Linked DNA regions of Homo sapiens: region 1 is linked to region 2. The links are contacts of gene promoters, found by promoter capture Hi-C in human tissues and cell types (Jung and others, 2019). All regions are on one chromosome and are shown on one strand. The core of a region is centred on a gene start or on the middle of the fragment in contact, and the rest is flanking DNA. Distances in the headings are between cores, read along the strand shown. Region 1 overlaps MPHOSPH9 (M-phase phosphoprotein 9). Region 2 holds the start of PITPNM2 (phosphatidylinositol transfer protein membrane associated 2).

Evidence for each region. Contacts are between HindIII fragments. The study calls those that stand out against the background at their distance.
Region 1: a fragment that was not itself captured here is called in contact with the fragment with the promoter of PITPNM2 in region 2 in 1 of the 25 tissues and cell types used here (psoas muscle).

What each region holds. Positions count from the first base shown.
Region 1 is chr12:123,181,802-123,187,206 of GRCh38, forward strand. All of the region lies in intron 13 of MPHOSPH9 (M-phase phosphoprotein 9), which reads right to left. Among named protein-coding and RNA genes, the nearest start is that of PITPNM2, 33 kb to the left of the region's middle. The HindIII fragment of the contact is 5,791 bases long and covers 1,078-5,405 here.
Region 2 is chr12:123,149,154-123,154,775 of GRCh38, forward strand. It overlaps PITPNM2 (phosphatidylinositol transfer protein membrane associated 2), which reads right to left and starts at 1,937. Exons shown (of 26, transcript NM_020845.3): 1 at 1,600-1,937. MPHOSPH9 (M-phase phosphoprotein 9) reads right to left here. Exons shown (of 24, transcript NM_022782.4): 24 at 5,062-5,622. RefSeq lists silencers at 1,491-1,580, 1,681-1,820, 1,841-2,100, 2,121-2,320. The HindIII fragment of the contact is 7,714 bases long and covers 1-5,410 here.

The DNA of each region.
Region 1 (5,405 bases), core at 2,723-5,222, 35 kb after region 2:
GACTGCAGTGAGCTTGTAGTGAGGCTTGCAGTGAGATTGCACCACTGCACTCTAGCCTGGGCCACAGAGCGAGACCCTGTCTCAAAATAAAATATCAATACCATGTAAGTATTTTAAAAGACTAAAATTTGCATTGCTCTTTTTGGAACTATTACTTTTTTTTTTTTTCTTTAGATGGAGTCGCTCTGTCGCCAGGCTGGAGTACAGTGGCTCACTGCAACCTCTGCCTCCCGGGTTCAAGCAATTCTCCTGCCTCAGCCTCCCGAGTAGCTGGGACTACAGGCGCACGCCACCATGCCCGGCTAATTTTTGTATTTTTAGTAAAGACGGGGTTTCACCATGTTGGCCAGGATGGTCTTGATCTCTTGACCTCATGATCCGCCCGCCTCAGCCTCCCAAAGTGCTAGGATTACAGGCGTGAGCCATCATGCCCGGTGTTTTTTTTGTGTTTTTTTTTTTGTTTTTTTTTTTTGATGGAGTCTTGCTCCATCACCTAGGTTGAAGTGCAGTGGCGTGTTCTCAGCTCACTGCAAACTTTGCCTCCTGGGTTCAAGCAATTCTCCCACCTCAGCTTCCCAAGTAGCTGGGATTACAGGCGTATGCCACCATGCTCAGCTAATTTTTGTATTAGATGGCGTCTCATCATGTTGGCCAGGCTTGTCTCAAACTCCTGACCTCAAGTGATCCACATGCCTTGGCCTGCCAAAGTGCTGGGATTACAGGCTTGAGCCACCACGCCTGGCCTATTGTATATTACTTTTTGCTAAATTAGTTCTACCTAGTAAAAGCACAATGCCAAAGTCTTTATTTAAAAATATATATATGTGAGGCTGGGCATGGTGGCTCATGCCTGTAATCCCAGCACTGTGGGAGGCCAAGGTGGGTGGATCACTTGAGGTCAGGAGTTCGAGACCAGCCTGGCCAACATAGCGAAACCTTGTCTCTACTAAAAATACAAAAAAATTAGCTGGGTGTGGTGGCGCGTGCCTGTAATCCTGCCTACTTGGGTGGCTGAGGTGGGAGAACTGCTTGAACCCAGGAGGCGTAGGTTGTAGTGAGCTGAGAGGGCACCACCGCACTCCAGCCTGGGTGACAGAGTGACATCTTGTCTCAAAAATAAATAAATAAGAGGCCGGGCGTGGTAGCTGACGCCTGTAATCCCAGCACTTTGGGAGGCTGAGGCAGGTGGATCACTTGAGGTCAGGAGTTCAAGACCAGCCTGGCCAATATGGTAAAACTCCGTCTCTACCAAAAATATTTTAAAAAATAAAAATAAATAAATATAAGAACACATATGTGAGATTTCTGGTTAAAGATGACAAATTAATAACAGAATTTTCTTCTCTTCACCCTCAGAGTCCACTAAACTAACAATGAAGAAATTAAAGAGAAAACAAACGAGGTGACAGTAACAGGTGAGAGATTTCAATAAAGTCTTAGAAAATTGAAAAGAAACAAAGTGCTGGCCGGGCGTGGTAGCTCACACCTGTAATCTCAGCACTTTGGGAGGCCGAGGCAGGTGGATCATCTGAGGTCAGGAGTTCAAGACCAGCCTGGCTAACATAGCGAAACCCCGTCTCTACTAAAAATACAAAAATTAGTCAGGTGTGGTGGCACGTGCCTGTAGTCCCAGCTACTCAGGAGGCTGAGGCAGGAAAATTGCTTGAACTTGGAAGGCAGAGGTTGCAGTGAACCGAGATGGTGCCACTGCACCCCAGCCAAGGTGACAGAGCAAGACTCTGTCTCAAAAAAAAAAAAAAAAAAAAAAAGAAAAAGGAAAAAAGTGCCTTAGCAGGGTGGAAGTGGATACAACCCCAAGTGCCTGAATCCAGAAATGCTGATGAAAAGCAGGCTGATGTCAGCATAACTGTGAGAGATGCCCACCTTGAAACCCAGGTTTAGAGATGGACAGGGTTGAGGCACAGGGCTGACCACAGAAAACTGGTTGAAATTCCTTAAGTAATCAGAGCCCAGGACACATCCCATACAGCAGTAGACTGTTCAGCCAGGTGGCAGGACAGCAGGAGAAAATGAATGGGGAGAAAAATGGAACTTTGGAAATCCAAGGATAATAGTGGAGTGGGAGGCAGAGGATAAAGAGAAAATGACAAAGTAAAAGACTTCAAAAACACCCAGGGCAGGTCACACCTATAATCATAGCACTTTGAGAGGCCGAGGAAGATTACTTGAGCCCAGGAGTTGGAGACCAGCCTGCGCAATATAGCAAGACCCCATCTCTACAAAAAATTTAAAAATTAGCCAGGTCTGGTGGCATGTGCCTGTAGTCCCAGCTACTGGGGAGGCTGAGGCAGGAAGATTCCTCGAGCCCAGGGGTTTGAAGATGCAGTGAGCTATGATCACACCACTGCACTCCAGTCTCGGTGACAAGGTGAGACCTGTCTCTAAAATAAATATATTAACAAATAATTTTCTTTTGAAAAAAGGTGACCTCCCCCTCCTCCACTGCCAGAATCTGACTGATAGGTCCCAGGCAAGAGACTGTAAGACCTGTCTTTACGAAAACTGAACAACCCCAGAAAAAAAACCTTCTAAACATTCACATCTGGAGGTCCCCTAACAAAATGGCTGGTGCATGACTCTACAATCGCCTGAAAATGAAGGCTACCAGGAACTAAGTCCCATCCATACACTTAAGAGTCTTTCAATAGCTTTTTATACTGCTTCGCTTTAATTTAATTTTTTTTTTTTTTCTTGAGATGGAGTCTTGCTCTGTCGCCCAGGCTGGAGTGCAGTAGCGTGATCTCTACTCACTGCAAGCTCCGCCTCCCGGGTTCACGCCATTCTCCTGCCTCAGTCCCCTGAGTAGCTGGGACTACAGGCATCCGCTACCACGCCCAGCTAATTTTTTTGTATTTTTAGTAGAGACGGGGTTTCACCATGTTAGCAAGGACGGTCTCCATCTCCTGACCTTGTGATCTACCCGCCTCGGCCTCCCAAAGTGCTGGGATTACAGGCATGAGCCACCGTGCCCGGCCTATTTAATTTAATTTTTATCTTTTGAGACAGAGTCTCACTCTGTCACCCAGGCTGGTGTGCAGTGGTGTGATCTCAACTCACTGCAATCTCCACTTCTTGGGTTCAAGCAATTCTCATGCTTCTGCCTCCCGAGTAGCTGGGATTATAGATGTGCACCATCACACCCAGCTAATTTTTGTAGTTTTAGTAGAGACAGGGTTTCACCATGTTGGCCAGGCTGGTCTCAAATTCCTGGCCTCAAGTGATCCACCCGTCTCAGCCTCCCAAAGCACTGAGATTATAGGCGTGAGCCACCACACCCAGCCTAGTGCCTCTTAAATGTGAGCCTGCAAAAGAACCAACACTTGGAAAAAGACATTAAATATGAAAGATACTTCAAATGAAAACAAAAGCTTAACTCAGAATAATGAAAACTACAGAAACAGTCCAATGGAAGCCATAATATTCTCAAAGAAATAACAACATTAGATTCAAAACAGGAATAGAAAGCTATTAAAAATGATCAATCAGAAAAAGAGTTGTTAGAAACTAAAAAAAAAAAAAATATTGTTACAAAATTTCGGCATACCAAGGATAAAAAGATGATCCTAAAAAACTTCCAGAAAGAGAAAAAAAGAACCACATTAGAAAGGAATGAGAAACATGATTACTAAATGCAATGTGGGCCAGGCACATTGGCTCATGCCTGTAATCCCAGCACTTTGGGAGGCCAGTGTGGGAGTATCGCTTGAGCTCAGGAGTTGGAGACCAGCAAGAGCAACATAGTGAGACCGCATCTCTACAAAAAAATAAAATTAGCCAGGTGTGATAGCCTGTAGTGTCTGTAGTCTCAGCAGTCGGAGAGGCTGAGGTAAGAGGATCACTTGAGCCCTGGAGGTTGAGGCTGCAGTGAGCTATGAATATGCCTACTGTACTCCAGCCTGGGTGACAGAGTGAGATCCTGTCTCAAAGAAATGATAACAATAAATGCAATGTGTGATCCTTGATTGGATTCTGGATTAAAAAGCAAAAAACAATACATCTATAAAGGATATTATTTAGACAACTGGCAACATTTGAATATAGACAGAATGTATTTACATATTAGTATTATATCAATGTTAAATTTCCTGAGGATGAAAAGTACATTGAGATTACACAGGAGAGGCCGGGCATGGTGGCTCAAGCCTGTAATCCTTAGCACTTTGGGAGGCCGAGGCGGGTGGATCACGAGGTCAGGAGTTCGAGACCAGCCTGACCAACATGGTGAAACCCCGTTTCTACTAAAAATACAAAAATTAGCTGGGCATGGGGTGGTGTGCGCCTGTAATCTCAGCTACTTGGGAGGCTGAGGCGGGAGCATTGCTTGAACCCGGGAGGCGGAGGTTGTGGTGAGCTGAGATCGTGCCATTGCACTCCAGCCTGGGCAATAAGAGCAAAACTCCGTCTCAAAAAAAAAAAAAAAAAAAAAAAAGAGATTACACAGGAGAATATCTCTGTTCTTCAGAGATACCTATTGAGGTATTTAAGGGTAAATTATCATAGTGTCTAATTTACTCTCAAATATAGTTCAGCAAAAGAAAAAAGTTTATATCTCTATGAAGACAAAGCAATGCTGTAAGATACTCACAACTGGTAAATCTAGGTAAAGAATATACAAGGGTTTTCATTGTATCATTCTTACAATTTTTCTGCAGGCTTGAAACTTTGAAAGCCATGGGAGGGGAGAGAAAGGAAAAGAATTGATCATGTCATAGGCAATAAAACAAAGCCTTCAAATCTGAAGAAAACATACACCCAGAATCACAGTTAGGATCTAGATCTTCATCTTCAGCTAGGACCTAGATCTTCACCCACCACAATTATAGATAATATGTAAAATTTAAGAAATAACAATATCGAGCCAGCCACAGGGGCTCATTCCTGTAATCCCAGCCTTTCATGAGGCTGAGGCAAGTGGATCACTTGAGGTCAGGATTTCGAGGTCAGCCTGGCCAATATGGTGAAATCTCATCTCTACTAAAAATGCAAAAATTAGCTAGGCATGGTGGCACGCGCCTGTAACCCCAGCTACTCAGGAGGCTGAGGCAAGAGAATTGTTTGAACCCAGGAAGTGGAGGTTGCAGTGAGCCAAGATCATGCCACTGCACTCCAGCCTGGGCGACAGAACAAGATTCCATCTCAAAAAGGAAAGAAAGAGGCCAGGCGCAGTGGCTCTCGCCTGTAATCCCAGCACCTTGGGAGGCTGAGGCGGGCAGATCACCTGAGGTCAGGAGTCCGAGACCAGCCATGGCTAACATGGTGAAACCCTGTTTCTACCAAAAATACAAAAAACTAGCCGGGTGTTGTGGTGCTCGCCTATAATCCCAGCTACTTGGTAGGCTGAGGTAGGAGAATCACTTGAACCCAGGAGGCAGAGGCCGCAGTAG
Region 2 (5,622 bases), core at 687-3,186:
AAAGCCAGGCCTGGAACCCCAGTCTCTCGACTCCCGCAGTCCACTTCTCTCCCCTGCTGCCTCCCACGCCTGAGCAGCTGGGGAAGACCAGGAGAGAGAATGGCCCATTCAACACTCACTACCCAGAGAATCTGGAGTCTTTGCCTGGCCATCTTCAGGGCAGAGGATGTACTGTCCTGTTCACTTGGCAAGCCACTCCTTACAAGAAAAACAGCCCTTCCTAACTCATTGTGTTTCTCTCTGCAGTGGGAGAGGGCTGGAAGTCCATTCCAACCACAGAATACAGTCCCTTCATGGAAGGAAAGTAATTTAACAGCAACAGTCCAGGAATCAGACAAGCTATGGTCCCAGAGGCAAGCGTTGGAGGGGCCTTCTGCTCCACGGAGACACTGACTCCACGCAGGGTACTGACCAGGGCAGGAGACCAGAGATGAATCAACTCCAGCCCGGGAGCTCACCGTCCAGCAGGGGAGATAAGGCAGATGGAAAAGTAACTATAAAATAAGGCAGACGGTGATAAGAGTTACACAGGAGATACAGATAGCAGGCAGTGGGAGTTCAGAGCAGAGAGGAGTCTGGGGGATGGATGTTAGGGGAGATTCAGATGAAGGGGAGCACTTACTGCCTTCCCTCCAGAAGTGGGGGGTCTATCCTAGCAGCTCTGGTCACTCCCAGGTGGAGGCCGGGGAGAGAGCTGGTTGTGGACAAAGACAGATGTTCCAGTGAGGTCTCCTTTGAAGAATCCCGACTCTGGGTGGGGGAGGCAGGTAGGCCGGGGTGTTTGGAGAGGCACCCAGCCCACACTTCAGTGGGAGGGAGAGGAGTGCAGGATGTCTCTGCAGGAGCAAGTCGGTGGAAAGGGGACAAGCCTGGAGGACTTGCCTTGAAATGACATTTGCACCGCGCGCACTATGTTCACCTGGAGTGGCCGTTTGGGATTTCTTGCGGGGAGGCAGTGCACACTGGGGCGGGGGACACTGAACTTTCCCTCTCCCCAAGGCCCCCCGATCAGCCCTGCCACGGATAAGAAAGGATTCGGGGTGGGAAGAAGACAGAGCCGGCACCCCATTACCACACGAAGGGGGCACTGAGGATGGAGACGGGCCACACCCCAACCCTGGGCCCCCGACAAGCAGAGGCCACGGCCCGGGCCTGGGGACGTTCAGCTGGAGGCGGGAAGCAGAGAAGGCGGGCCGGGGGCTCACCTCCGCTTCCTCCCGATAGCCCCTTCCTCGCCCTGGCACCGGCACTGCCCACGCCTGCCCCCCGACCGCTATGACACTTGTCCCTGGCGGGGGTCCCCCACGCGGTCGCGACCGACGGAAATTCGGAAATCAGCGTTTCGGGCACGGATCCAGGGCCGGCGACTCACTGAGGCCAGGCTCGGGCGGTCTCCCGAGCGGGGCTCCCGTACGCCACACCCTCCTCCCTGCCCGGGTCTCCGCTCCCTCCTCCAGCCCCCGGCGGGCTGGAGGCTCGGCGGGCGGGCGGGCCGGGGCCTCTCTGGGAGCCGCCGCCCAGATCCCCAGGTCCCCGGCCAGCGCCCGGCACTGCGGGACTCACCGCGGGCCTGCGGAGCGGCCGCCCGGACGCACTCACCCCGCTCGGCGCGGCCGCGGGCTCTGTCCTCTTCGGGGCCCCGGCTGGGCCGCCGCCACCTCACGCCGCCTCACGGGGAGCGCCCGCCCCGCGGCCCCGGCCCGGCCGGCTGCGCCCCGCGCGCCCCCGCCGCCTGCTGGCCCCGGGCGAGCGGCAGAGCCCCGGCGGGCATTGCTCCCGAGCGTCGCAGGCGGGCGGCGGCGGCGCACGTGCTGGCGGGCGGCTCTCGCTGAGGCGGCCGCGAGCTGAGAAGGAAGCGCCGGGCGGGCGGCCGGGGCCGGCTGGACAGCTCTACGCCGCGGCGCCGCGGTGCCCCGCGCACCCCAGCGGCCGCTGCTGCCCGCGCGCGCCGGGCCGGGCTCGCATTCCCTCAGTGGCGGCGGCGCCTCCTCAGGCCGCGCGGGGGAGCGGCGGCGGCGGCGGCGGGGGCGCGTCCCTGCGGAGTCTCGGCCCGGCCCCGCCGCCTCCGCCGGAAGAAACCTCTCCGACTCGGGCAGCCCGCCTGGTTCCTCAGACCTGCCGCGGCGACCCCGCTCCTCCCCGGCTCGCCCGTGTCCTCAGGGCCCGGGACTGGACTCGGGGGCGGCGGCGCGGATCCCCGCCCCGGGCTCCTCGCCCACCGTCCGCAGCAGCCGAGCGCACTCGGGGGCGGGAACCGGCCGACTTGCGGCCACTGTGACTCTTAAAACAGCCTCATTTTAAAAAATGAAGTTTCTTAGGAGCGAAATGGTAAACCAGGGAGGGCAGAGCGCAGCGGGCAGCTCACCGAAGCCCAGCCCCGGGCGCGGTGCTCGCCACACGGTGGGTCCGCGCTCTCCCCTCAGGACGCCCGGGCCGCGGCCCAGGGAACGGCAGAGCCGGGAGCGCAGCCGTCCCGGTCCCCACCTCAGGGAGTAGCTGGAAGAGGATCACGAACAGTTTAATCCGGATGATCTGGCACGACAGGGCTCTCCAATGGGAAGAGCCCCCGGTGGGGGAGCGCCTGGTGACATTCCTTAAAAACATGAGGTGTTTGTTAGGTTGAGCCAGGGTGGACTTGTTTGGCAAAATCTGAAGTCATGGAACTAAAGAGAGCACACCTAAAACTTAGTGATGTGTGACCCATCCCTACTTGTCACCTTATAAGGCTGAGGAGACGGCGGTGCTCCCCTGGAGGAGAGAGGACAAGCTAAAATTAAGGCGGCCTAGATGACTCCAGATGAAGCCGGGGAGGCCGAGCCCCTGACAGCTGCTCACCTCCTGGGGTCACGGCAGAACCCAACTGAACGGGCCAGGAAGGCCATCGTTCCCGACTCGCCTCCAGGTGCCCCTGACCATGACCACGCAGAGGAGGACCAAGGCGTACCACCATCACCTAGAACGCTTCAGCTCCTTCCCTCCACCAAGAGGTGCCCTAGGATCCATCCAGAAAGATCTGCGGAGCCCACAGAGTCCCAACGGGAACTGTGCTCCTGGATGGACGCCCCTTAACCCATAACTCAAGGACTTCTCTATGCCTGGGACTTAAAATCACCAACAACCCGCTCCTGCAGCCAGCTAGCAGAAATAAACACACAAAGGCCACACGCCAGTTCACAGCCACAAGTATTTATTGAGTGCCTGTAGTGCAAGAAAGAGAGATGGTCCCTGCTCCCGCGGAGCTTACAGCTTCACGACTCCAGCATCTGGCTAGATTCAGAAACAACTGCAGCAAGCACTTGTCTACCCACCAGCAGCACTGTAAAAAGCACATTTCTCACATTATCGGTCACTGTTACAGTGAAATTGTTAGATGTAAAAATTATCCTTGAAATCTGTAGTCATAGAGATGACATGGTACATAATGTCCAGCAAATGCACATTTATGGCTTGATTCCTCACATATCTGAGGGGTCTATGGAAATAAAGTACAAATCAGGCAGAAAAGACTTAGTAACACAGTTCCTAAGAATACTGGGGTAGTAGTTTATTATCAAACTACCATAGAGCTCTTGGCAGGGCAGGAAATTATTTCCAGCAAAATTTGTGCAATATAGTGGATTTAATCAAACCTGCAACTGTCAACCATACATGGTCCCTCATGACAGGTAAATATAATCTACCTGTCTGAATGGTAAAAGGCTACAGGTGTGCATTTATTTTTTAAAGCTTCTTAAAGACTCATAGCACAAGTGGCACATTGAAATCTAGTGAAAACTTGAGATAATCTAAAAATTAAAGTGACAAAAGTGTCTAATTTTACTACATATGTAGGTGCAGAGTTCAGATTTCAAGTAGCGTCCAGCAAAGCACGTGGCTTTTCTGGGCGAGAAGGGGATAGCTTTTGGTTGGCTATCACAGACTCCACCTACATCTCCTAACACCCACTGGCAGGCACTTCCTGTGCATGGTTCTGCCCACAAGCTGTCACCTTTAGATGAAACATTTGAAGGGGCAATTATTTGGAGGATACTGGCAATAATTTTTAGAAAAACAACCTATATTTATACCAAATAACCCCCAAGTCACCAATTAAGACCAAAGTGCTTTCTGAACTTACACGTGACAGGTTATCAAATTTGTTAAATTTTTGGTGGCTAAAAAACCAAACACACCAGAGGGATGCTTAATTTAAACTCCAAAAAAGCTCATTTTTTTGCAAAGCGTGAAGAGAACATCTTAGACCACCTAACAAATGTCAGTCCAAGGCAGTTTTTAGGTCAACTGCTTCGGACATAATCTACTTTTTTATTTCAGAAAGTATGCTACCTCAAGGCTGGGCGCAGTGGCTCACGCCTGTAATCCCAACACTATGGGAGGCCAAGGCAGGCAGATCATTTGGGGTCAGAAGTTCAAGACCAGGATGGCCAACATGGTGAGAACCCCGTCTCTACCGAAAATACAAAAATTAACCAGGCGTGGTATGCACCTGTAATCCCACCTACACGGGAGGCTGAGGCAGGAGAATAGCTTGAACCCAGGAGACAGGTTGCAGTGAGCCAGTATCACACCACTGCACTCCAGCCTGGGCAACAGAACTAGAGACTCCATCTCAAAAAAAAAAAAAAAAAAAAAAAAGGATGCTACCTCAAAAACCTACTTAACTCAATGAATCTGAAATATAATATTTCTTGAGCACTTACTAAGCACCAGGCACTTTACAAAATCTCCCTTAATGAAAGGAGTTTTCTTATTTCATCTTATAGCTGAGAAAGGCAGGCCTGTGCCAGGATGTGACCCAGGTCTCTCTGGCTCCAAGTCTCTCCTTTCTTGTCCCCTGAGCCCAGCTCTGCACAACCCTAGCACGGCCACTTTAGCTACATCTGTTGCTTCAGTTGGAAAAGTCCTTCAGTTGCAAAGACCATTTCCATACCTCAGGAGTAGCTCCTGCAAACAGAGGCTTAGCAAGGGAAAGGAAGGGGGCAGATCCAGGCATCAGGGGAGAGTTCACTTTCTATTTGCATTTTAAAAGGCACTTCCCAGAGGTGGCAGATTTGCTTAGGGTTTTTTTTTTTTTTTTCTTTTTAAACTATTAATACCTGCAGCAAAGCCCCAAGCCAACAACAAAAATAGTTTATACCCGGGGATAATAGCTGCTATTTAGAATTGCCATCTTTCCTGCTTTTAGGTGGAGTGTTTTTTCAGTTGAGTGTTCATAAGATAAGCATTACCGAAGAGAAAGACAGCAGAAAGAACTTTCCTTGGTATCCCTCTTCACAGCTATGAAGAAAAAAGAATACATTTTTTAGAAATAAGTGACTGATAGCTCCAATCTATTACACACTTCAAATATCAAAGCATATGCTGAGAGAGAGGCGCAGAAGATGTTTTGATGGAGGTTAACGCCTTTTTTGGAATAAGCCAATATAGGCTACTAAGAAGATAATTCCTTGGCAAGATAAAACTATCATCTCTTCTGAAATGGCATTTTTTAATTCTTAAGAATGTAGTAGATTTTACAATAAAAGTAGGGAACAAGGAAATATCCTAACAATTTTCAAGTTAGTTTTTAATGTCATATCCAGGAACACATTAAAGGTGGTCTTACTAGGTCTTGACACAAGC